Regions from separate parts of the Homo sapiens genome. Here regions 1, 2, 3, 5, 6 and 7 are each linked to region 4. Evidence: promoter capture Hi-C in 16 types of primary human blood cells and fetal thymus (Javierre and others, 2016). All regions are on one chromosome and are shown on one strand. Each heading gives the region's core, a stretch centred on a gene start or on the middle of the fragment in contact. The rest is flanking DNA. Distances are from core to core; before and after follow the strand shown.

Region 1 (2,700 bases), core at 192-2,691, 390 kb before region 4:
ACTGAGGTGACTGCATCCATTTCAAATTCATGCCCATTGGCCCCAGCTGGGCCCCATAATTTACCATGCTGACGCAGGAGGGGCAAAGGGGACTGGGGGCCAAGGCAAAATAGATAAAATGACAGCAATGCCTCAAGGACAGTCCCACAATTGTGAATCAACTCCAGAAAAGAAAGTGGAGAATTCTTTCTAGACCTAAGGAGATGAGAATGAGGTTCTAGCAGAATAGAAGAAGTTGTGGAAATGTAAGACTTAAATATTGGAAGCATCAAGTAGAACACACGGTCATTTTGTAATCAAGGAAGAAGGGGCTGGTCCCTGGGAAATGGAGATGGTGGAGCATGGTCTAAGATTACTCCTGCCAGTGGATTTAGGTCCAGGATTTTGGTACCCTAGAAATGGGGAAATTCTAGGCCTTCAGAGATGGCACGCAGAGTACATGGCACTCCAGAATACACAGAGCTACAAGGCAGCCATGTTGGAGATCTGGCCTTCCCACATAAGGATAATATTATGTAAGGGGATCCAAGCAGTAAACAAATAGCAGCAAAAGCTATTTCCAAATCCTGATGGGTCCTGGAGCCAGGATCAATGATAAACAGTATCTAGTAGGTTCTAGGAGGGATATGAAGTACTTACTAAAGGCTTTAAGTTGAGGAGGATGACAAGTTCATTGAACAAACACCTTCAGAGGACCTACTCTGGCTTCCTGTTAGGTGCTGTGGAAATAAACAAGACATCTTCTGTATCATGACAAAGCTTATTTCATATCCATCGTCCCATTTTATTTGCTATACATGCACACAATTGTTTTATACTTGTATTGATTCATAGGTATAAATATTGCCTCCATGAGATTTTTTTAATCCTTTAGAAAATGTACTAGGCCTTGAATTTTTTTTACCTCTTCATAATGTCTAACACAATGATGGTCATATTTGGCCAGCCACCTGATTATTATTTGTTGATTTATGGACTTTTGGAACTTCTAGATGATCCAGATCTTTTGTAGTTAATTACTCACTTTGGGGAAACTCTAAAAAAAACAAGTGTTTATTGAGCATCTATTATGTATAAGCCATAATGCTAGGTGCTAGAGAAGCTACAAAGATGCAAAAGACATGGAAGTGCCTGCCCTTAGGGAGTTCACATTCTAGTTGGGAAGATAGGCTTGAAAAATGAGTAGCAAGGAAAGGCTTAAGTGACAACTACGTAGAACAATAAAAGAGACATCAAAAAGGTAATATCAGTTTAACGGCCAAATGATTTTTCTACATGCATTCAGACAAGAGAAAGATCCCTTCTGTTGGGAGCAATCAAGAAAGGTTTTGCAGAGAAGGTGGGATTTGAGCCGAAAGAAAATTAGGATATGAGGAGGGTAAGAAAGAGTGTATTCCAAGTGAGAAACAGGCTCACTTGGTGGGAAAGAGTGGTGGGAAAAAGCACAGAACACATATGGATAAAAATGATGATCTAAGTCTTACAAATATCATGTTGGATTCACCTCAAGTAAATATACATTTATATAGCAATTCTCCCATTCCTGTTCCTCATATAAAAGTCTCTAAACAAATAGATTGGCAAAGATGCTCTATATGAAAATTCCCAAATTAAAAAATTCTTTCAGAACAAGATCATGTCCTGCATTTGCAGGGACATGGATGTAGCTGGAGGTCATTATCCTTAGTAAACTAACACAGGAACAGAAAACCAAATACTGCATGTTCCCACTTATAAGTGGGAGCTAAATGATGAGAATACAGGGACACATAGAGGGGAACACCACGCACTGAGGCCTATCAAAGGGTGGAGGGTGGGAGGAGGGAGAGAATCAGGAAAAATAACTCCTGGGTACTAGGCTTAATACCTGGGTGATGAAATAATGTGTACAACAAACCCCCATGGCACAAGTTTACCTGTGTAGCAAACCTGCACACGTACCCCGAACTTAAAAGTTAAAAAAAAACACACATTGTTCTTTATATTTCACAGGAAATTGAATAGATATAAGGTTCATTAATTATCATAGAATTTAGTTGAACATTTCCTACCAATATCAATAGTTTTTTAGATTGTAGCCTCTTGTTTCTTGAGGAGCATGGTGATCTGGCTTTTACCAAATAAAAGCTTCAGGTGATGGAAAAAGGAAAAAAAGTTCTTTTAGCCTGGGCATCAAGACTCATCTCTAAAATTAAAAATAAAAAATTAGTTGGGCATGGTGGCACACATCTGTAATCCTACCTACATGGGAGGCTGAGGCAGGAGGATCACTTAAGCCCAGGAGTTGGAGGCTGGCTGCAATAAGCTAGGATCTCGCCACTGCACTCCAGCCTGGATGACAGAGCAAGACCCTGTCTCAAAAATAAATAAATAAATTAACTCTTATTTTAGATAATTGTGAACTTTGAAACAACAATCTGTATTATAAGCATTGATAGTTAATACTTTTTTTGAAAAAGGAAATTAAAGAAAATCCAAGCTTTAAGAAGAATTGATATGAAAACTAGCTATTGGAGAGTAGTAATGGCCCTTCCAAAACATAAAGTTAGCTACAGAAAGGAAATAAGACTTGTCACAAAGTACAGATTGTGAGGAAAGATGAAAATGGAGGCCCTGATATATACCGCAGTATATCCCATAAAGTCTGAAAACGATTTTTAAGAGTTTCTAAATACAGAATATCAGCCTAGAATAAAAAAA
Region 2 (2,700 bases), core at 199-2,698, 350 kb after region 4:
CCACACCTGGCCACTGTAACTTTTTTATTTTATAAGCTTTTTATTTTTTTTAACTTTTGACTCTTGTAATAACAACACTTAGCTTAAAACACAAGCACATTGTACAGCTGTACAAAAATATTTTCTTTCTTTATATCCTTATTCTATAAGCTTTTTTCTATTTTTAACATTTTTTACTTTTATTTTCTACTTTTTAAACTTTTTTGTTAAAAACAAAGACACAAACACACATTAGCCTAGGCCTGCACAGGGTCCGGATCATCAGTATCACTACTTTCCACCTCCACATCTTTTCCCACTGGAACGTCTTCAGTGGCAGTAACAGACATGGAGCTGTTCTCTCTTATGGTAACAGTGCCTTCTTCTGGAATACCTCCTGAAGGACCTGCCTGAGGCTGTTTTACAGTTAACTTTTAAAATATATATAAGTAAAGGGAGTACACTCCAAAATAATGATAAAAAGTATAGTAAATACAGAAACCAGTAACATGGCTGTCTTAATTTGAAGACCTCTATCGTATATGCGGTTCAGTGTTGACCAAAATGTTATGTGGTGCTTGATTGTAATCATATGCAGGAGTGTAGAGTTGGGAGTACACAGAAGGGAGTTACCAGTTTTTACTCTAGGTCCCTCCAGGTTATACTTCTGATACTGTAAACTGGCATTGCTCTAGTCTCAGTAAGTTTATAGCATGTTCAGTGTTCTATTTTTATTCATCATGGCTACATCTGGTTGAAGTAAGGAGGAAATAGTGTTAATTTAGAGAAAGTAAAAGAGGCCCAGAAAGGCTAAATGCCTTTCTTAGAGACACAGTAAATCATCGGTATCAAAGCAATTATTTTGGGCCCCAAATGACAGTTAATTTCCTGGTAGACTAGGAAATTTCACATTTCCCTGAAATTGATCTAAGTAAGCCAAGAATCTTTTCCTCATTTAACTCATATTCTTTTCAAGCCTTTATATTTTTCTTTCATATATATTTTTTTCTTTTATATGTTTTATATATATATAAAATACTTTAAGTTCTATGGTACATGTGCACAACGTGCAGGTATACATGTGCCATATTGGTTTGCTGCACCCGTTAACTCATCATTTACATTAGGTATTTTTCCTAATGCTATCCCTCCCCCAGCCCCCCACCCCAAGACAGGCCCTGGTGTGTGATGTTCCCCGCCCTGTGTCCAAGTGTTCTCATTGTTCAGTTCCCACCTATGAGTGAGAACATGTGATGTTTGGTTTTCTGTCCTTGTGATACTTTGCTCAGAATGATGGTTTCCAGCTTCATCCATGTCCCTGCAAAGGACATGAACTCATCCTTTTTTATGGCTGCATAGTATTCCATGGTATATATGTGCCACATTTTCTTAATTCAGTCTATCATTGATGGACATTTGGGGTGGTTCCAAGTCTTTGCTATTGTGAATAGTGCTGCAATAAACATACGTGTCCAGTGTGTCTTTATAAGTAGCATGATTTATAATAATCCTTTGGGTATATACCCAGTAATGGGATTGCTGGGTCAAATGGTATTTCTAGTTCCAGATCCTTGAGGAATTGCCACACTGTGTTCCACAATGGTGAACTAGTTTACAGTCCCACCAACAGTGTAAAAGCATTCCTATTTCTCCACATCCTCTCCAGCACAAGCGTTTATATTTTTCAAGTTCACAAATCTTTTCCTGGTACTTGGCAAATAATGTGGTTATTGAAAGTAGATAACTTCTCTGCTATATGGTGGCCATTGTGGGATCTGGGGACTCTACAGTGGTACAAGCTGGCTTCCAGGGAATGAGATAGTGATGTGGTACCTCCCTGTGCAGGTTTCTGCGTGGCTTTTCTGCCTTGGGCTAAAGCTAGCAGCTCAGGGACCAGATGAAGCAGATTTCCTCTTCCTGGATAGACTCAACCCGTGTTAGCTGAAGCAATATTTGCAGGGCAAGAAGTCTCCTGACATGCTGGAGATGCTAGAGGTCCAGGGCTGTAGGCTGAATTGCTCGTGATGGTTCCCAGTGAGGAAGCAATGCAGAGTGTGTGCACCTGCCTTCCTCCTCAGAGCTGCCACTTGGCAATTATGCCAAACATCATGGGGAATGATCACTATTGATTCAGTTTTGTCCTGTGAACTACTTTCATTCATAGATAAGACTGATAGCAAATATCAATGCATCTCTGTATTGTGCAGTATTTAATAGGGCATTCTTTATTTTCCCTAATCCCTAGTAAGGTGGTTCTTAAATTTTTTTTGGATCAAGGACTGCTTTAAGAATTTGAGAAAAGCCGGGCACAGTGGTGTGCGCCTGTATCCCCAGCTACTCTGGAGGCTGAGGCAGGAGGATTGCTTGAGCCCAGGAGTTTGAGGCTGTAGTGTGCTACGATTGTGCCTGTGAATAAGAGTTGGCACTTCAGCCTGGGCAATATAGCAAGACCCCATCTGTTTAAAAAAAAAAAACTGGTGAAAGCACTCTCTCCAGAAAAATGCACACACGAAATTTTGAATGTAATTCAAGGGGTTTATGACCCTCTCCACCAAAAGCTGATCTGTGAGCTGTGGATTTTAGTAAATAACCCTTGTTGTAGACTTTCCATAGTCATTTTGTTTGATAGCCAAAGAAATACTGTCATTTTTTAACCTATGGATATTTCACAGGAAATGTGTTTAATGTTCTTCTACATTGATGAAAAGTCAACACTGTATG
Region 3 (2,700 bases), core at 121-2,620, 350 kb before region 4:
ACATAAATTGTACAGCATCAGAAGAGACTAGTTTTTACAAGTCAACCTTTTAATAGAAAATAATGTTTTCTATTTGTATAATGCTTTATACTTTAACTATACATGAGCTTATTTGATCCCCATGATAACCCCAAGAAATCGATGTTAAGGATTATTATATACATTTTACAGAATAGGAAACTGAGGCTAAGCAAAGTTAAGTGAGCTGCCCAAGTCATAAAGGTGGTACATAGCAAAGCCCAGGTCTTCTGATTCAAGTCACCTTCTGATGAAAAGGTTTATTGGTTAGTTGGTCAGTTTTAATTTGAAATAATTGACCTTATCTTTGAAACTATTTAGTTTAATATGTGAAAATAATTGCTAACATTTATTGAGAGCTTACTGTGTGCCAGACACTATTCCAAGGTCTTTACATTCTCATCTAATCCTCCTCTCAATACTCCTATGCTATTCACTTGTGCTATCAGGCTGGACATAAGACAATCCTAGGTGATTGATAGTTTCTTCCTGTAGAAACTGTGCAGTTGGCTAGGTCTTCTAAAAAGTAGTTGTATCTTGTAAGTATTATTCTAATGCATTTATTTAGCACTTAATATGTGCCAGGACTTTCACCAAGCATCAGGAGACAAAGATAATTGACAAAGTCCCTATCCTTGAGGAGCTGAAAAGAAAGGCCATAGAGAGAGAGAGATGTTGCTATTAAAATAGATAACATACACATGGATAAATGCCATTTGAGTGACAGACCCTCAGCTTGCTGCCAGAGTTCTCAGGGGAAATGACCATGGACTGACAGGGACAGGGAACACTTTAATGAAAACACAGAACTTTATCCTGCCTTAAAGACTAGAACAGTCACTAACTGGCGAGGAGGGGAGGACGTCCCCTAGCAGATGGGACAGAGTCCAAAGAAACCTGTGGTCTGCTAGGAAAAGGCAGTGAACCAGTCAGACTGGAGCACAGAACTGGGGAAGTGGGAAGCAGGAGAAGTAGTTGGAAGGGTGCACTGAGCAAGTTTGGGGAGGTCTACCCACCACACCAGGGTCTAGATTTCACCGTGAAGGCAAAAAGGCCTGAATATTTCTGAATAGGAGGATGACACAGACCAACCTGTGTTAGGGGGAAATGATTAATCCGGTGATACTGTTCAGAATCCCAGGAGATGGGGGAAGAGTAGGGGAAAAAACAGCCTGGGAAGTTACATTTATTGTAGATCCAAAATCCTTTCAAAGGAATGACAACAAAAATAGTAGCTACCATTTATCAGGTTCCAGGCACTGCAGTAGGTGCTTATTTAATCATCAGAAGACAGAATTTCAATGATCTGTTCAAGATCACATACACAGTAAGTGGCCTTGTCAGGTTCTGAACTTCTTTCTCACTCCATATAACCTTTCCACTGCAGAATTCTGCTTGTATCCTCACCTCTGACTCTCCAGGCAATAAAGGTCTGGACTAGGATGGTGATGGTTATGGAAAAGAAGGTTGGGAGACATGTACCAAATATCCTGGCTCTTCCTTCAGATTCTTTATGCATCACAAACCCCAGTCTGGGAGGAAGGGGAGTTGCACTCTGCATCTGTAGTGAAGAAGAAACCTCAGGGTAGCCTGCCCTTACATGTTGTCTAGTAATCATGTACTACTGGACAGTAAGCTCTTCTGCTGTGCTTTGGAGCCAAGATACATAGTATTGCTAGATTGTGCTACCACATGCCTGCCTGCCTACCTCTCTTGCTGGCTGGGGTCTGGTCTTGGTTTTTCTTGTTTATATACTATGGCAGCATCAGACAAGTTTAGAAGACAAAAATAACCTTGGAATTATCTTGTGAATTCATGGCAATTACCATGCAATTACATGCTCAGTAACCACAATGGAATTTGAGAGTGTTTACAGTTCACTTCCATGTGCAAAAGCCCATGCTTCTGGGCTTTTCAGTGTGAAGGTGAGAGCATGGCCAGCCCAGTATGGCAGGGCGAGCAGGCCTTGTGGCCATGCCCTTCCAGACAGACTAGCTAGCTGGGCCAGAACTTCTCCAAGCCAGTTCTTTTTACCCCACCAATTATTCCTGCTTAGTCCACCAGAGCCATGCTGTCCTCCAGCAGGCAAGGCCCGGAGCAACTGCCCTGAGTTGTCCTTCTCTAAGGATGGTGTGACTGTCCCCTGTGCCATGTAATAATCACCTGCTTTTGCTCCAAAGCATTTATCAATGGGCAGTGTCTTTCTTAAATTACATACTTTGAAGAGTCTCTTAAGTCAGAGGGAAGAGCTATCCACCTAATCTATTTCATGTATTCATTCTCTTTTATTTAATAAACACCAAGTGCCTGTTCTGTGCTGGTATCATGCCCAAACTGGAGATTCAGAAACCAAACAGCGCCTGCCCTCAGAAAACTCCCAGTCATGGAGGGCAGATGACCAAGGGAACAACTCATGATAGGTCAGGGTGACAGAGTACAGTAGTGAGGCATATGAGGATCAAATCAATTTTCTGTTGTTAGAAAAATCCCAATGGCTACAAATGGGACGCTACAAGTGGGGTAAACAACTCAAGATGTATTAGCCTGTGGGGGCCTAACTCGTCTGTAGATGTGGACTCCACTTGCATTTAGGATGAGCAGCCTTAACTGGTGGCACTGATGATGTGACCTTCGGACACAGGACTTGATGTAAATGTTGAAGAAAAACATGCTCCCCCCATC
Region 4 (2,700 bases), core at 100-2,599:
GAGGGCGCGAGGCTTGTCAGCCGGGGAGTTAGGACAGTGTTTTTGCCTCCTACAATGATATAAAGGACTTCAACGCGAAATAAGGGTCAACTTATTTTAGTTCGATCCTCGGAGATAAAGATGAAACAGACAGATAATACATAAATAGCTTGATACTTGAAGAAGGTACAAAACAGATGAGAGAAAGAGGAACGAGCCGGCAGAGACAGCTCAGGGACAGATAAGATCGACAAATGAGGGTCTCCTAGACAAATAGAGAAGAAGGGAGAGAGACAGATAAACAGAAGATTCCAGTCTCCTTGCTGAAGGCTTTTGAACTGGGATCCCCTGTCTGGAGCTGCCCCTCTGAAAACGGAGTTACATTCAGGGCCGACTGCAGGGGAGGAGCCCTCAGGGTTGGGCTGCCCTGGCCGCAGGAGCGCCTGCAGCCTTGGGCCGGATGGGAGCCTGGCTTGTCTGAGGACATGTGGCTGGGTCAGGCGACCTAGAGGGCCCCAAACATCAGTCCCCAAGTACCCCCGCTGCTGAGGTCTGCCTGCACAGCTCCCTCCCTGCCTCAGCCAGAAAGCAAAGTGCAAGGACCAGCAGCAACTTGTGTGCCTGGAGCCTTGCAATGGCTACGAAGATGGCTGAGATTCCTTCTAGCCCATATGAGCCGGGACAGCGAGGCATGAAGGATACTCAGAGAGGTGATGCCCCTCAAAGAGGAAGCCCAGAGCCCCGAATCCTGCAGTTGGCCCGAGTGGGAAACGTATATCTGAAGGAGGAAAGCTCAAGGAGTGGGCGACTGGAAGCTAAGAAGTGGATCCCAACAAAGTTCCTTGAGAACCTCTCTGTCCCACACGTTGACCTCGGTGGAAACCAGCTTTGGTCTGGAATACAGCTAAAAATGCAGAAAATGTGGTTAGAACTGCAGGATCCTGGTCTCACTAATAGCTGGAAAGAAAACGGTTTATATATCCAGCCGAAATCTTTCTGCTCAACGAACGCGGGCGCCAGCCGTGAGAGGAGAAGCTCGGGTTTGTGGAAACTGGCAATGTTGTCCCCTGAAGCCGGCTCGGGCACCAAGCTGGGTGCGGTGGGGGCCGCGCTAGGTCCGGGTGCGCACCGAGCGCTTTGGAGAGGGTCAGGTTCAGCACCGCGAACAGCGGTAGCCTCCGCCTCTCTCCTTCCCTGGCAGACACGGTTCCCTCCTCCTTCTCCTCACCCCCCTCCTTCTCTTCACCCCCCTCTACCCCCTGCTGTCTGGAGATGGGCAGTGACCGCCCCTCCCCCCTCCCCACCCCTCCTTGCACTGCCCCCGCCCGCCCGCGTGCATGCGCGACTGAGCAGAGGGGCGGCCGATCCCCGAAGTCCGGGCTTCAGGACCCGGGCCGGCAGCACCGGCTGCGAGGGTTGCCGAAGGCGCACGGATCTGGGCGCTGAAAAAGCCAGGATTTGGCAATGGCTTTGCTGTGTGGCCTTGGGCAAGTCACTCTGCGTATCTGGGTTTCACTTCCTTCCCAATCCGAAAACGGGATTGGGTTCCTTGCAGCCCGGGCATTCCTGAGGTCTCCTTTACCCCTTCTCCTCCCCCAAGCCCCGGGGGCTGTTGTTAACGGCGCCAACATGGGTCTGAGTAACAAAAGACGCCTGTCCAGGGGGTGAATGAGTTTGGACTCCCCACTGCCAAGTATCCCCCGCGCGCCCAACTCGGAGCGCCCTGCTGGGCGGGCCCGAGCCTCGGCGGCGGCGCTGAAAATGGCTCATCTGCTCTCTGCTTTCTCTATTTCGCAGGAGCGGCGGCATGGAGGCTCTCACCACTCAGCTGGGGCCGGGGCGCGAGGGCAGTTCCTCGCCCAACTCCAAGCAGGAGCTGCAGCCGTACTCGGGCTCCAGCGCTCTCAAACCCAACCAGGTGGGCGAGACGTCGCTGTACGGGGTGCCCATTGTGTCGCTGGTCATCGACGGCCAGGAGCGCCTATGCCTGGCGCAGATCTCCAACACCCTCCTCAAGAACTACAGCTATAATGAGATCCACAACCGCCGCGTGGCCCTGGGCATCACGTGCGTGCAGTGCACGCCGGTACAGCTGGAGATTCTGCGTCGGGCCGGGGCCATGCCCATCTCGTCGCGCCGCTGCGGCATGATCACTAAGCGAGAGGCCGAACGCCTGTGCAAGTCGTTCCTGGGCGAGCACAAACCACCCAAGCTGCCCGAGAACTTCGCCTTCGATGTGGTGCACGAGTGCGCGTGGGGCTCGCGTGGTAGCTTCATCCCTGCGCGTTACAACAGCTCTCGTGCCAAGTGCATCAAGTGCGGCTACTGCAGCATGTACTTCTCGCCCAACAAGTTCATCTTCCACTCGCACCGAACACCCGACGCCAAGTACACGCAGCCCGATGCCGCCAACTTCAACTCCTGGCGTCGTCACCTCAAACTCAGTGACAAGTCGGCCACAGACGAACTGAGCCATGCTTGGGAGGACGTCAAGGCCATGTTTAATGGCGGCACGCGCAAGCGGACCTTCTCCCTACAAGGAGGCGGCGGAGGCGGTGCCAATGGCGGGTCGGGTGGGCAGGGGAAGGGTGGTGCTGGCGGCGGTGGCGGCGGTGGCCCAGGGTGCGGTGCAGAGATGGCCCCAGGCCCGCCGCCCCACAAAAGCCTGCGCTGTGGCGAAGATGAGGCTGCCGGGCCTCCGGGGCCACCTCCACCCCACCC
Region 5 (2,758 bases), core at 113-2,612, 310 kb after region 4:
CCGTCTCCACCAAAAAAGTAAGAAAACCAGTCAGGCGTGGTGGCGCGCTACAGGCACTCGGCAGGCTGAGGCAGGAGAATCAGGCAGGGAGGTTGCAGTGAGCCGAGATGGCAGCAGTACAGTCCAGCTTCGGCTCGGCATCAGAGGGAGACCGTGGAAAGAGCTGAAATTTAGATTTTTAAAATATGAACTAAAATTCCAGATATATTAAATAATTACATAGAAACAATAAGCCAAAAAATTAATTGTGTATTTATTGAATTTATGCAAAGGAACAGCTAAGTTCAGAATTAGCAGAAGAATTTAAAAGGAGATTGTTGACAGATTGGACCACATAAAAATCTTTTATATCATCTAAAAATATAGCCCAAATGAAATTTAAAAAATTGTAGCAGACTGGAGGAAATATTTGTAGCAAATTTCCAGGGTTTTAATATTCTTGTATATGAAACCCTTATGCAAATACATAAATAGGCATAGGACAAGGCTGGACAATTAGTTAAATAGGAAATTCAGCAAATAACAAAACATGGAAATATTTTAGATGTGAATTAAACTTCTCAAGAGTTACCAGGATCCATTCATTAAATTAGCAGCAACTCCCATGCTGGCCAGAGTGTAATCACTAGATGCATAAATTGCTGATGGTCTTATATGTAAAACAACCATTTGAAAAGCACTCTTGCGATGTGTCAGGATTCATAAAAATCTTCATACTTTTTGACCCTGAAATCTCACACCTGGGAATTGATCCAAATAAAATAATAACCTGCCCCCCTTCCAAAAAACAAACCTTTAAGCCCAAAGATATCCACAGAGTTATTTCAAATAGTGAAAAATTAGAAATAACCTAAATGACTAATCAGGGGAGTAATTAAAATGTTCATATGTCCCCTGAGAGAATACAGTAATTAAAAATGGTAATAGAGACTGCAATTGAAAATGTAATAAGGGTAATTTTTTTAAAGCAAGCTTTCATATTGTATCTATAGTTTGATATGAGAATGACTGGAAGGAAATAGATAAAAGTCATAAGCAGTTACAATAAGAGGATAATAGGTAATTCTTTTCCGATTTTCTGTGATCCAGTGTAATGCAAGGCTGCACTGGTAGGAGTACAGCACCGAGATCAAGAGAGCTAATAAACCTATGTTATGAGAGGAACACGGACTTTGGAGGCAGGAGATGTACAGATTGAGTTCCAGTTCTGAGTTTTCTACTTACAAATTTGAAGGCTTGACAAGTTAGTAATTACTCTGAACCTCAATTTCTTCATCTGAAAAATGGTCTGATAACATTGTCTTCATGATTATTGTATGGATTAACTACTAGAAAGTAGTTAATGAAAGTAGTGTTCTACTGACATCACATCTGGAAGAATATATCAATCAACTTAGAAGCAACCTTAGATCTCAATGGCTAACAACTATTAGAAACAACTAAAGAAGATTTGGGCATGTAATCCCAGGACTTTGGGAGGCCAAGGTGGGAGGATTCTTGAGGCCAGGCATTCCAGTTCAGCCTGGGCAACACAGCAATACCTCATCTCTACAAAATAAAAAATAAAAAAAATTAGTCGGGCATGGTGGCACCCACTATTGTAGTGCCAGCTACTGTAGAGACTGAGGCAGGAGGATTGCTTGAGCACAGGAGTTTGAGGCTGCAGTGAGCTATGATCATGCCACTGCACTCTAGCGTGGGAACAGGGCAAGACCCTGTCTCTAAAAAAGAAAGAAAAAATAACCAAAGAAATAAAGCTTCTTTCCCACTTATGTTATTTAACTAGCTGTAGACTGTGACTCTGCTATATGTTTTGTTTGCTCTGGGATCAAGGCAGAGGGGAAACAAAGACAGTAAAGCCTTAGGTGCCTCTTGAACTGCTTGAAAGTGGTACACTACCACTCCTATTTCATTGACCAAGGGTAATGTCCATGGCCCTGAACATTATCCTCCCATTGGGATAGGCCAATACAGAAGGGCAACACATATTTTGAACAAATGATATGTGCTGTGACAGTGCTGTCCAGTTCTGTCACTTTATTTATTTATTTATGAATGAATGAATGAGACGGAGTTTCACTCTTGTTGCCCAGGCTGGAGTGCAGTGCGGCGATCTCGGCTCACTGCAACCTCTGCCTCCCAGGTTCAAACTATTCTCCTGCCTCAGCCTCCCAGGTAGCTGGGATTACAGGCGCATGCCACCACACCTGGCTAATGTTTGTATTTTTGGTAGAGACAGGGTTTCACCATGTTGGCCTGGCTGGTCTTGAACTCCTGACCTCAGATGATCTGCCCGCCTCAGTCTCCCAAAGTGCTGGGATTACAGGCGTGAGCCACCATGCCCAGCCAGTTCTGTCACTTTAATAAGGGTGTAACAACCTGGGGTACGTCTGGAGGAGGAAGATTTGGACAGTGAGTAATTCTGAAATCTTTACTAAAATACAGTGGGAAGAGTCATTGGAAAGGGAGGGGCATATTAAGTCTCTTCAAATATTTGAAGAATGGCTGTCACTGGATGGTGAGATTAGTTCAGTGCTGTGTGGCATCAGTGGGTGGAAGTTACGGCCTCATATATTTTGACTCAGTATAGTGGTAAGGAGAAAAGTGAGAAGAAAAGGAAATTATTGGTTGTTTTCAATATGTTACTCATTTACATTCTTCAAAATAATCCTAACAGAGCGTGTATGTTTCTGTGTTTAAATATTGGAAGAAAGACTCAGAGTGAATGAATACCCAAGGTCACATGGCACGTAAGTGG
Region 6 (2,700 bases), core at 195-2,694, 370 kb after region 4:
AAAGGTTAATTTCCCTCAGTGTCCCACATTATACCAACCTAAGAGAAGAACAGGTAATAGGGAGAAATAAACATACGGTGGTTTCAGTGGTTTTGGTCATGTGTCCACAGGAGAAACTAACCATTCAGTTGTCTTAATTTTAGTTCGTTCTACCCTGTGAGGAGTTTGTTTCCATCAGTTGTTGACTTTCCAAAATGTTGCATTAAGTAATAGTTGTCACTCTGTTGGTCTCATGGTCAATATCAATCAGACTTTCATGATCTCTACTAATTATTAGTAGAGTCCTGTACTATGTCTGTAACTACTAAGTTTAAAGAAAAGCACATAGTCACTTCATCTCTTTTTTTCTTAGCCTACGCTCACTCCCCAACCCATCCCAACATTGACATGCTATCTGTGGACAAATAGCAGTTCTCAGAATCTAGTCAAGTTGCCATCATCCCCCTTGCCTTGGCCGTTCATAGTAGGTATGCATATGTTTGTTTCTGTACAGTACTGTGTGTGTGTGTGTGTATATATATATACATCTGTATGCACACATCTTTGATAAAATAGCTATTTGACTAGCAGGGTTAAAGTGGCTTTTAATTACTTCGTGAGTGTTATTGGATACATCTTAAAAAAAAAAAATCTGAACCAGAACCATGCCATACTTGGTTGACTATTTTGAGCATTAAAATTGCTTTACTAATTATTTAGACATGATCACAATTCTGTATCTTTACTGAGGAAAGATTCACGTAAGCTCTGAAAAATCGGATTCTTTGGCAGATTTTCCTTTGAGTCAAGTGTCTGAAATGGAGTGAAAATATATCCTAACTAAATTAATGTGGAAAGAGCATTTTTTTAGACAATTTCAATTTTAAACACATAAAACTTTCAAGATCTTCAGGACTTTTTAAAGCACATTTGAAATTATTTTAGTAAGAATTTTGTTTTATCAATAGATGTTGAATTCTGTTTTTTAATTAAATACAAAGCTTAGATTTCAGAAAGAGAGGGAAAATAGCTGGTGGTCCCAGAGTGTGCTGCTGTTAATTGTTTAACAAAGGGGAAAATGTACATAAACAGATAAAGTTACCATAAATTCCATGAACTTAAATCTGTGATTCATTGCCTTAAAACTTTCTCTCTTAGAATTTCCATACCGCATGCCAAACCAGTAAAATGGCTTTTAAAAATGTATAGTAGACAATGTCAGTTTGTATAAAAGTACCAAGTGAAAATATTTATTACATGCATTGGAAAAAAATTGTTTACCTATTGAATGTTACCTGTTTATGTAGAGCTCTTTAGATGTAATAAAAGAAAAGCCTTCAGTTAATTTGTCTTCTGTAAAATAACACTGCTGGATGTTCAAGGGGACAATCCCTATGAGACAAGTGATAATGGTTTGTGCTTCCAAAGCACCTTTCATCCAGAGATTTCAAAGCATGACAAGTAACTAACTAATTTTCTTGCAGCATGCTTTGAGGTAAGTAATGAATATAGCCATCATTTCCCTTTCTTGTTGAAATATGGCTAACTCTTTAATAAATCACAGCATCTGTTTAGTATCTGCAGTTTGAATGCTAAGAGCACCGTGGCCTTCTTGTAAACAACACTAGGTGCTAGAGAAACCAGCTGGAATTTCAGGAATGAGCTTGAAACCAGGACCAGGAGTAAGGTAACAGCCCTTCCTCGGGTAGAGGTTTGAATCAAACACTTAATAGGATCTTAGACTCTGGACCACTGAATCCCTTAATGAGCAGGGAGTCCGTGAAGAGGAGCCCCAGGTTCTAATGACCATTCCACACCAACTGTGTGTTTTTGGCAAGTTATATTTCAGATTCCTGTTAGGCAAATGAGATTCATAAAACTTGCTTTAAAACCATACTGGGACTATTCAGTGATAAATATAGACATAGAAAAGCTTTGACGGAAAGTACCCTCATTTATTATATCCAGAACTTGCTCTTCCTGTGCCATCTAAATCATTGGTATCTATCTCCCATCTAATCTTTGGTATTCCAGGTTGGCTGTGCAGGATTTACTTCCTAATGTCCATGACTGGAGCTCAAAAGAACTGTGGGCCTAGGACCTTTGAGCTTTGCCTGAAAGTGACAGCAGTTCTCTCGGCGGGGCCAGCATCTAACCGGCCCTCTGGTGGATTTACCATGAAGGTAATGAAGTTTAAGCACCAGGACCCTTCACTTGTTCTGGTCCTAGGAGCAGCCCCAGAAATTCTGCATTTCTGTTTTTGTATTCTTAAGGCAGCCAAATCTCGTAAACCTCAGACCCCACAAAACATCTGCTCCTACACTGTGTGGACCTGGGCTTCCCAGCCAGATGGTCACAACTTCACCTAGTTGGCATTTGGGCCATTTATTTACCCTCACCCCACAAAACTCTTTGGCTCCTAGGAATTCCTCCTCTCCTTGCAGTTATGCTTGGGGAAATGAGAGTCTCCTTCCTCAGGGCCTTGTTTGGGTCTGAAGCCACACAGCATCGTTGAGACAGTTGCACTAACACTACAACTCTTGTTCCCTGCAGTTTTCCCTGTGCCCGGTGCCTAGTGAAAGATTTGTGTCTTGTACATCCTCCCAAAAGACACATCCCATTTGATTTGGTTTTCTTCTACTTTAGCCACTGTGGTACTACTAGACAAAGCCACAGCCCAGAGAACCCACTTTTGATACATACATGGATGCAAATCTTTGT
Region 7 (2,700 bases), core at 12-2,511, 410 kb after region 4:
CTGACCTTGTGATCTGCCCGCCTTAGTCTCTCAAAGTGCTGGGATTGCAGGCGTGAGCCACTGCACCAGGCCTGTATCAGATACTTTTAAATGTATCGCCTAAGATCCGTTAGACACACCAGTCTTCCAGCTCCTTGCCACTTGTTTTGTCCAGCTGCTGTGACAACTGACTTCACCCAGGCAGAAGTCAACTGCACCTCCTCTCCCCTTGGCCCCACACCCTTGGCCTCAGAAGTGCAGGAGTGTTGGACACTCCATGGAGTGAACTTTGACCAGCAAGAGACAGGGATTAGCAAATAAATTTTTCTCTCTTCCTCTTTCTGGACAGACTGGCCTGAGTTCCGAGTTCACACAGCCACTTTAAAGAAGGTCCTGGGCCATGCGCAGTGGCTCACACCTGTAATCCCAGCACGTTGGGAGGCCAAGGTGGGTGGACCACGTGAGGTCAGGAGTTCAAGACCAGCCTGACCAACATGGTGAAACCCTGTCTCTACTAAAAATACAAAAACGAACTGGGTGTCGTGGCATGTGCCTGTAATCCCAGCTACTTGGGAGGCTGAGGCAGGAGAAATTGCATGAACCCAGGAGGCAGAGGTTGCAGTGAGCCGAGATCACGCCACTGCACTCTAGTCTGGGCGACAGAGCAAGGCTCAGTCTCAAAATAAATAAATAAATAATAAAGAAGGTCCTGTAAGGTCTAGCATCCTTCCAGACGGAGTGGTGGCCAGCTCCGCAGTGCACTCTCTTGTGTGCCCTCCCTTCTCCTCTGTCTCACTCCCCCTTGTCCTCACTTCCCCTTCCCAGCCACCACACTCCCCAATACAGTGTTAGCATACATGCTGCCCTGCTCTGCTTCTTTGGAAACCTGGGCTAAGACAAAGATCTTTCCAGCATGCTCAATGTATGAAACACCTACGGGGGGGTGGGGGGGGTGGTGCCCTGAGTGAAGAGAAGCAGGGTCCCAGGTGCCATCTCTTCTCCCCTTATGGTTACAAGGCCGTGGCCAAGTCACCTCCAAAGGGCTCCCTGGAAAGCCTTTGATCTTGCCTAATTTCATCATTCTGCAGCTGCGGAAAATGAAGCCTAAAGCCACACAGCGAGTTAGAAGCCAAGCCAGGCCAGAATCCAGTCTCCACTCCTAATCCAGTACCCTTTCTATCCAGTCTCTTAAGAGCTTTTGAAAATTTCTCTTTCTTCAAAACATCTTCCCACACTGCCCTGCCACCAGAAGGCTTTGAAGGCCCCTGCTAGACTGCAGCTACCATCTGAGAGACATGACACACAGAATCCTGGATCCAGAGGCTGGGACTCCAGAAGGCAGACAGACGAAGTGGGACCAGGAAAACTCAGTTACTTTGGAGAGAGGCAGCCAGGAGGGGCCTGACTAGGGGATCTCTAAGTGTGGGCAACAAGACTGTGCACAGTGAGAAGGCTGCACAAGGACAGACAGCAAGGGACTGGGGCACTGGGGGAAGATGGAGACTGTCTTTCTGTGTCAACTGGTATTGCCTGCAGGACACTCCCCATCTGGCTGAAGAAGCTGGGAGGGTGACCAGAAGTCACACTGTGGGGAGAGAGAAGGTCCCCAGGTTGTGTTTAATTCAGATTCTTGTGGTTGTGATTACTAGAAGCAACGGGGGACAGGTTGATGACAAAAGGGGATTTCTATTACAAGGATTTAGGGGTGTCTTAGGGAACCTAAGCATAAGGATGCAGTTGGGCCTCAGGAACTGAGAATGGTGCTGGGACTTTGGGAGCCCAGGAAGGCACCACCCACAACACTGTTTCCATGTCATCCTTCTCTCTTTCTCCCTGCAGACTGGCTTTCCTGGCTTTCCAGGAAATACAGCAGCCGACGGCCTCAGTCAGCAGCTCCCAAGTTTATCTTTCTTCCATCCAAGAGATAAGCAGAATGTGGGTGGCCTCTTCTGGGCCCAATTCAAAATTCCCGCGGAGGGATTCTGATTGGATGGCTTGAGCCAGTGCCCACCCTGAGCCAGGCAGTGTACCGATATGGCTGCTCCTTCTCTAACCAGACAGCCAAGGGAAGGAGAAGTGTATAGTTCACGGCCCTGAGTTTGCAACTTGAACAAAAGCCCTAATATAGGGCTCTATTTCCACCCATTAATGGAAGAGATCACTGCCTTTTACATGTGGCTATAAATTCAGACCCTGCCTAGAAGCCTGCTGTCCCCATGACAGCCCAGAGCTGAATTGCTCTCTGCTAGCCCGTTCCCCTCCCGTCTGCTGCTGAGAGCTAGGAGAAGCTGAGAGGCTCCCAGAGCCCTCCACTCTTTTCCTTATCATTTCTTTTTCCTTATAATTTCTTTCACTCTTAACAGTTGACAAAGGCCGGGCGCGGTGGCTCACGCATGTAATCCCAGCACTTTGGGAGGCCAAGGTGAGCAGATCATTTGAGGTCGGGAGTTTGAGACCAGCCTGGCCAACATAGTGAAACTCCGTCTCTACTAAAAATACAACAATTAGCTGGGCATGGTGGCAGGTGCCTGTAATCCCAGCTACTCGGGAGGCTGAGGCAGGAGAATTGCTTGAACCCGGGAGACGGAAGTTGCAGTGAGCCAAGATTGTGCCACTGCACACCAGCCTGGGTGACAGAGTGAGATTCTGTCTAAAACAAAACAAAAAAAGAATAAAACAAAACAAACAAAACCAATAGACATTTATTGTACAATTCCTGTG

The links. The method cuts DNA at HindIII sites, captures the fragments that hold promoters and counts their contacts. A CHiCAGO score of 5 or more calls a contact.
Region 1: a contact is called between a fragment that was not itself captured here and the fragment with the promoter of SKOR1 in region 4, in 7 of 17 cell types (total CD8 T cells, naive CD4 T cells, naive CD8 T cells and 4 more). The highest score is 6.4, in total CD8 T cells.
Region 2: a fragment that was not itself captured here is called in contact with the fragment with the promoter of SKOR1 in region 4 in 1 of 17 cell types (megakaryocytes); the score reaches 5.7 in megakaryocytes.
Region 3: a contact is called between a fragment that was not itself captured here and the fragment with the promoter of SKOR1 in region 4, in 9 of 17 cell types (naive CD4 T cells, naive CD8 T cells, total CD4 T cells and 6 more). The highest score is 9.6, in naive CD4 T cells.
Region 5: a fragment that was not itself captured here is called in contact with the fragment with the promoter of SKOR1 in region 4 in 2 of 17 cell types (megakaryocytes and erythroblasts); the score reaches 6.7 in megakaryocytes.
Region 6: a fragment that was not itself captured here is called in contact with the fragment with the promoter of SKOR1 in region 4 in 4 of 17 cell types (erythroblasts, neutrophils, megakaryocytes and 1 more); the score reaches 6.8 in erythroblasts.
Region 7: a fragment that was not itself captured here is called in contact with the fragment with the promoter of SKOR1 in region 4 in 1 of 17 cell types (neutrophils); the score reaches 7.8 in neutrophils.

The regions. Positions count from the first base shown.
Region 1 is chr15:67,429,682-67,432,381 of GRCh38, forward strand. The region is part of intron 16 of IQCH (IQ motif containing H); the gene reads left to right. It overlaps IQCH-AS1 (IQCH antisense RNA 1), which reads right to left. Exons shown (of 6, transcript NR_040052.1): 4 at 640-719. Among named protein-coding and RNA genes, the nearest start is that of C15orf61, 90 kb to the right of the region's middle. The HindIII fragment of the contact is 1,368 bases long and covers 758-2,125 here.
Region 2 is chr15:68,170,929-68,173,628 of GRCh38, forward strand. The region is part of intron 8 of PIAS1 (protein inhibitor of activated STAT 1); the gene reads left to right. Among named protein-coding and RNA genes, the nearest start is that of CALML4, 33 kb to the right of the region's middle. The HindIII fragment of the contact is 2,600 bases long and covers 149-2,700 here.
Region 3 is chr15:67,471,325-67,474,024 of GRCh38, forward strand. All of the region lies in intron 17 of IQCH (IQ motif containing H), which reads left to right. The region is part of intron 2 of IQCH-AS1 (IQCH antisense RNA 1); the gene reads right to left. Among named protein-coding and RNA genes, the nearest start is that of C15orf61, 48 kb to the right of the region's middle. The HindIII fragment of the contact is 4,188 bases long and covers 1-2,700 here.
Region 4 is chr15:67,824,160-67,826,859 of GRCh38, forward strand. It overlaps SKOR1 (SKI family transcriptional corepressor 1), which reads left to right and starts at 1,350. Exons shown (of 9, transcript NM_001365915.1): 1 at 1,350-1,550; 2 at 1,777-2,700. The coding sequence starts at 1,444. It overlaps LOC124903570, which reads left to right. Exons shown (of 4, transcript XM_047433429.1): 3 at 480-1,243; 4 at 1,354-1,425. The coding sequence ends at 1,425. RefSeq lists an enhancer at 2,618-2,700. The HindIII fragment of the contact is 26,599 bases long and covers 1-2,700 here.
Region 5 is chr15:68,136,427-68,139,184 of GRCh38, forward strand. The region is part of intron 2 of PIAS1 (protein inhibitor of activated STAT 1); the gene reads left to right. Among named protein-coding and RNA genes, the nearest start is that of CALML4, 68 kb to the right of the region's middle. The HindIII fragment of the contact is 785 bases long and covers 971-1,755 here.
Region 6 is chr15:68,190,141-68,192,840 of GRCh38, forward strand. PIAS1 (protein inhibitor of activated STAT 1) reads left to right here. Exons shown (of 14, transcript NM_016166.3): 14 at 1-2,700. It overlaps CALML4 (calmodulin like 4), which reads right to left. Exons shown (of 5, transcript NM_033429.3): 5 at 565-2,700. Among named protein-coding and RNA genes, the nearest start is that of CALML4, 14 kb to the right of the region's middle. The HindIII fragment of the contact is 932 bases long and covers 979-1,910 here.
Region 7 is chr15:68,232,385-68,235,084 of GRCh38, forward strand. It overlaps a transcript of CLN6 not described here. Among named protein-coding and RNA genes, the nearest start is that of CLN6, 4.0 kb to the left of the region's middle. The HindIII fragment of the contact is 4,684 bases long and covers 1-2,700 here.